Regions from separate parts of the Homo sapiens genome. Here region 2 is linked to region 1. The links are contacts of gene promoters, found by promoter capture Hi-C in blood cells and fetal thymus (Javierre and others, 2016). All regions are on one chromosome and are shown on one strand. The core of a region is centred on a gene start or on the middle of the fragment in contact, and the rest is flanking DNA. Distances in the headings are between cores, read along the strand shown. Region 1 holds the start of FAM186B (family with sequence similarity 186 member B). Region 2 has its middle 7.4 kb from the start of SPATS2.

Region 1 (3,095 bases), core at 520-3,019:
CTGTGATGGGATGACTCTGAGCTGAGTGGGGGGTAGCACTTAGCTTTAGGGTTTAATGCAGCTGGCCCACACCCAAATGGCTGCACCAGTTGCTCACAGCTGGCATCAGGGCCCATGCAGTAAAGGTCATTCAGTGCTTTGAATATCACCCAGGGGTGCTCTATAAAATAGCTAATGTGGGTTTGAATTTAGTTTCTATCCTGCACAAAAATGAGATGTCATAATGGACCCGTGACTTAGGCTTCATCATATATTCAGCTAATGTCATGATCTGTGATGTTTGGACACTTCTGTGTCTGCCCCTCAGGAGCATGGAGGTGATGTGCTGTGACACGAGTGGTGGAATGCTTCACTGGAGAAGGGGATGTGTCCTGTGCTGTCCCTGTGCTCGCCACCCACACTCCCCTCCCAGAGGAGGCACGGTGCCCAGCCTGCAAACTCACCCCAGTCACCCAGCCAGCGGAGAATGTCATACAGGTGCTTCTCCTTCATCATAGCATCTTTGGAGAAGGAGGCAATTTTTTCCAGCAAGATGAATCTCTTCTTGCCCTTTGGATCTCTCTGCTGAGATTTGGCATTTTCTTTTAAATCATATCCTAATTCTTCCTGGAAGCGGTTGATGACACAATTGACATTGTCCAAAATGTCTGAGAGCTGGGTAGAAATATCCTATAGAGAAGCAGCAGATTGTAGTGTTAGGGCTGTGGACTTGAGCCAGAAGCCACATGCTAGCAGCGTGACCTTGGACAAGTCGCTTAGCCTCTTTGGGTCTCAGTTTTCTTATATTTAAAGTGGGAATCATTATAGTACCTATGTCACAGGGTTTCTGTAAGGATTAAATGAATTAAATATTTTAAAGTGCTTTTAATAGTACCTGGCACATTACACAAAAGTGGTAGCTTTTATTATCATTGTGATTATTAAGAAGGTCAAGAAAGTATAGAACACCAAAACCCCACAGCAAACATTTCTTTAGAATTTCAGAGGTTGCTGGGGGTTTCTGGATGTCTTTCCTCACAAGGATCCACAGGCAACAGAAGCTTGGAAAAGTGAGGCCCCAAGAAACTCTAGGATCAGAGGCTCAAGTAAAAAATGTACTAGAGCCTCGTGTACAGGGTGATTTGAGCCTTTGGACATTTCCCCAACCCCTATGAACTTCCTGGGCTCAGCTTGGGGGATTCTGGAGGGTTGCCAAGAACAGATTCTGGGTCCTTTCTCCTGCCCTCTAAAACCCACCACACCACCACGATGTGCCTCAGGGCTATCCTCGAGCTTCCTGCCCCCTTCCCGGGCCCCAGCCCTGCCTCAGGCGGGTGGTTGCTTTCAGCTCACCCTGTATATGCCAAGTTTAGGAGAGAGATAATTTATACTAATCTGTCTGCAGACCCAGGTTGCTGAATATCCCAGGGCCTCTGAGGACCCAGAGCTGGAATCTCACTCAAACCTGGGATCAGCCCCCAGTCTCCGCATCAGATCCCAATGTAAGAGTGATTCCTTCATCTCAGGGGCTACCTCTTGAGCCCGAGTTAGCTGGGCAGCCTCAATCCTCAGGATGATGGCTTTCACTGATGTGGGAGTCACCAACTGTGGGGGGTCATCCTTCTCCATTTTGGATCACTCTGTCAGTCACAAAACATCCTGTGTTTCTGGTCCACAGGCCTGGACACACAATGTTGCCTGCTTTGGAGGTTAAGGGCACCAGGGTGTCTCCTGGGTACCCTCTGCCCAGGCACAGCTCCTCTGGTAACTGCCAAACACCAGGTTCCAACTGATCCTCTTTTCCCCAGTGACATCATCAGTTTGATTAGAAGAATTAGGAGATGAGACTCCCCACTATCTAGCTTTTTGTCCATTACCTAACATATATTTACTTGACTTGTTGCCTTTTCTTTTTTTTTTTTTTTTTTTGAGACGGAGTCTCCCTCTGTAGCCCAGGCTGGAGTGCAGTGGTGTGATCTCGGTCACTGCAACCTCCACTTCCTGGGTTCAAGTGATTCTCCTGGCTCAGCCTCCTGAGTAGCTGGGATTACAGGTGCGTGCCACCACGCCTGGCTAATTTATTTTTTGTATTTTTAGTAAAGACGGGGTTTCACTGTGTTAGCGAGGATGGTCTCGATCTCCTGACCTCGTGATCCACCCACCTTAGCCTCCCAAAGTGCTGGGATTACAGGTGTGAGCCACCGTGCCCGGCCTACTTGTTGCTTTTTAAAAATTACTAAATGTTATGCTCCCAAACAAAACATTAATGTCTACAAATAAGAAAAAGCAATTAGCAAAAGTTATTTTCCTGAATAAAATATTTTAAATTTGTAAAAATTAGAGCCAATCAATAACCAAATGGAAGCCAGGCTCAGTGGCTCACGCCTGTAATCCCAACAATTTGGGAGGCTGAGGTGGGAGGATCACTTGAGCCCAGGAGTTTGAGACCAGCCTGGGCAACATGGTGAGAGCCTAGCTCTACAAAAAAATTTAAAAAATAGCCAGGCATGGTGGCGCATGCCTGGGATCCCAACTACTTGAGAGGTTGAGATGGGAGGATCACTTGAGCCCAGGAGGTCAAGGCTGCAGTGAGCCATGTTCACGCCACTACACCCCAGCCTAGGTGATAGATACCCTGACACACACACACACACACACACACACACACACACACACACAAACATACAGAGGGAGGAACATCCCATAATGCTAAAGATGTCAATTAATAAGGAGAACATAATTCTAAATGTGTATATACCTAATAACATTGCTTCAAAATACATGAAGTAAAAAGCTTCCAGAACTGAAAGGAGGAATAGGTAAATCCAAAATTATAGTTGGAGATTCCAGCACTTCTCTTGCAGGAGTTGATAGAAGTAGCAAAAAATAAAAAGTATAGAGGTTTTGAAAAATACTATCAACCAACTTGACTCCATTGACAGTCATAGAACACTTCACCCAACAACAGGACACATATTATTCCCTACGCATATGGAACAATGATCATATAAACCATAATTTGGGCCATAAAACAAGTATCAATTACCCTAAGAAGTCTAAAATAATACAAAATATGTTCTCTGACCACTATGGTATTAAACTATAAATCAATAATT
Region 2 (2,955 bases), core at 439-2,938, 250 kb before region 1:
TGAACAATATATCATCCTTTAAATCCAGCAGCCTAAAAATTTACTAGCTTTTTTTGGTTGCTATGTAAGTGTGACTCATTGAGTTTATAGTCAACTGAGGCCCTTAGATCTTTTCCTAGGCACTGTGTCTTAGAGCTATGTTTGCATCTACTCTAGGACCCAGGAGGCTTTTGAGGACTCACTGACTTTAGTACTCTATGTCTTAGTTTTCTTTTCTCTTGAACAGTGGGGTGGTCCTAACAAGCCTGGAGACGTGTGGTTTGTTGTAGTCTTAGCTAGGAACTGCAGATGGCGCTACAAGGCTGTCATGGTAAAATATGTCCCTCGGCTGTCCCCTTCACTTAAAAAAAAATGTGGTAGTGGCACCTCCATAGCAGGTTCATTACCAGAGTTCAGTCCTCTCCTTTTGCTGAGAAGGAGCAAGCAACTGTGAAGTTGGATTTGGGGTGTTATTCAAAGCAAGCTCCAACTGAAGCATGCTTTTCAGTTGTCATTTAATCTCCTAGGGGAATCTAGAGCTGTCTATTTCATGTTAGAACTTTGAACGCACATCTCATGCCAGTGCTTTGGCTTTTGAAGTTCCCACCCTGAGAAGGTGATTTAAAATGTTTTTCTTTTGCTTCATGTTCCCTGCAGTATTTCTGTTAGTCGCCTCAAGGGATTAAAAGTTGTTCAACTGTTTTGTTTTGTTTTGTTTTGTTTTTGCTAAGATGAGTTTTGAGCAATAAAAGTAAAAAATTTATGTAGGGTTCCAGCTAAAGATACTTCATTTCAATAATTTGTTCTCTCTTTTCTTTCTTATTCTTCTTTTTCCCCACCTCTCATTCACCCTTTCCATAGTCCATCTGGTTATTTGCAAACTATTATGACTCTAAGCAAGGATCTTGGACTTTCTGGGTTTAAACGTTACTGACAAGTTTCAACAGAACAAAGCAGTAAAACAGTGCCCTGTATGGGAAACTTGGAAGGGAATCTTTTTTTTTTTTTTTTGAGACGGAGTTTCGCTCTTGTTGCCCAGGCTGGAGTGCAATGGCACCATGTCAGCTCACCACAATCTCCACCTCCCGGGTTCAAGCGATTCTCCTGCCTCAGCCTCCTGAGTAGCTGGGATTACAGGCATGTACCACCACACCCAGCTAATTTTGTATTTTTAGTAGAGACGGGGGTTTCTCCATTTTGGTCAGGCTGGTCTCGAACTCCCAACCTCAGGTGATCTGCTCGCCTTGCCCTCCCAAAGTGTTGGGATTACAGGCCACCACTCCCAGCCCAGAAGGGAATCTTTTAACCCATTCTGTGCCAGACCTCAGTCCCAATTCTGGGTTGAGAAATGTTGTGGGGAACATCTGCTGGGCAGTGACTGAGTCAGCATGTGAGCCTGGCTTTGCAAGCAACACCTAAAAGGGCATTTTTCCTAGAATCAATGGCTCAGGCACATTTCAGGTGAATTAGTACCAGAAAAGGAACGGGAGCTGGGTGTGATGATGGGCGGAGGCGGGGGGATCACTTGAGCCCGGGAGTTTGAGGCTACAGTGAGTTATGATTCTGCCACTGTACTCCAACCTAGGCAACAGAGCAAGCCCCTGCCTCAAATAAATAAATAAGAAATTTATTAATCTGTCTCAAGAGTGGGGAAAAAAAAGGCCAGGCATAGTGGCTGATGCCTATAATCCTAGCACTTTTGAGAGGCTAAGGCAGGAGGATCACTTGAACCCAGTGGGGAAGATTGCTTGAGTTTGAGACCGGCCTGGGCAACATGGGGAGACCCCATCTCTATAAAAAAAAAAAAATTAGCCAGGCCTGGTGGCTCACACCTGTAGTCCAAGCCACTGGGAAGGCTGCAATGGGAGGACCAGTTGAGCCTGGGAGCTGGAGGCTGCAGTGAGCAATGATCCCATCACTGCACTCCAACCTGGGCAACAGAGTGAGAACCCTGTCTCTTAAAAAAAAAAAAAGGAATGGGGCTTGGCGCCGGTGACTAACGCCTGTAATCCCAGCACTTTGGGAGGCCAAGGCAGGTGGATCACGAGGTCAAGAGATTGAGACCATCCTGGCCAACATGTGAAACCCCGTCTCTACTAAAACTTCAAAAAAATTAGCTGGGCATGGTGGCGCACCTGTAGTCCCAGCTACTTGGGAGGCTGAGGCAGGAGAATCGCTTGAACCCGGGAGGTGGAGGTTGCCGTGAGCTGAGATCGCGCCACTGCACTCCAGCCTGGGTGACAGTGCGAGACTCTGTCTCAAAAAAAAAAGAAAAGAATGGGAAGGGGTTGTGGGACATAAAACGTCTTTGGTTCAGGTGTTTCCCAGTCACAGATCTGAGGGCCACTGAGGCTTGTTTTACTCCCCCACCCCTCCTTCCATATCCTTACCCACTTTAGACGTGGTTTCTCTTGCTTTTTCCTCCCTTTCCCTCCCATGAACCACAGGAGAGAGTGTACGTTTAATATTCAGTAAATTTGATATTCAGTGCCTGCAAACTTACTTCGTCTTAGCAGTTGACTTTTCTTGCACAGCCAAGATGACTGATCATTTCAGACCCATCTCCCTTCAGGCTCTAATTCTTCTCCATCAATGTGTTTGTTTTGATATTTCTGCCTTTGGTTGATGTTCTTCTTCTTTCCTATAATTATTTTTCCTCTCTGCTAAATCTTTTTTTTTTTTTTTTTTTGAGATGGAGTTTCGCTCTTGCCCAGGCTGGAGTGCAGTGGTGTGATCTTGGCTCATTGCAACCTCCGCCTCCTGGGTTCAAGTGATTCTTGTGCCTCAGCCTCACGAGTAGCTGGGATTATAGGCGCCCGCCACCACGCCAGGCTAATATATTTGTATTTTTTGTAGAGACAGGATTTCATCATATTGGCCAGGCTGGTCTCGAACTCCTGACCTCAGGTGAGCCACCGGCCTCAGCCTCCCAAAGTGCTGGGATTACAGGCATTAACCACCATGCCTAGCCTTGCT

Evidence for each region. The method cuts DNA at HindIII sites, captures the fragments that hold promoters and counts their contacts. A CHiCAGO score of 5 or more calls a contact.
Region 2: a fragment that was not itself captured here is called in contact with the fragment with the promoter of FAM186B in region 1 in 3 of 17 cell types (endothelial precursors, M2 macrophages and M1 macrophages); the score reaches 8.3 in endothelial precursors.

What each region holds. Positions count from the first base shown.
Region 1 is chr12:49,603,870-49,606,964 of GRCh38, forward strand. FAM186B (family with sequence similarity 186 member B) reads right to left here and starts at 1,770. Exons shown (of 7, transcript NM_032130.3): 1 at 1,513-1,770; 2 at 444-669. The coding sequence starts at 1,608. The HindIII fragment of the contact is 1,733 bases long and covers 1,039-2,771 here.
Region 2 is chr12:49,358,549-49,361,503 of GRCh38, forward strand. No RefSeq gene overlaps it. Among named protein-coding and RNA genes, the nearest start is that of SPATS2, 7.4 kb to the right of the region's middle. The HindIII fragment of the contact is 5,412 bases long and covers 1-2,955 here.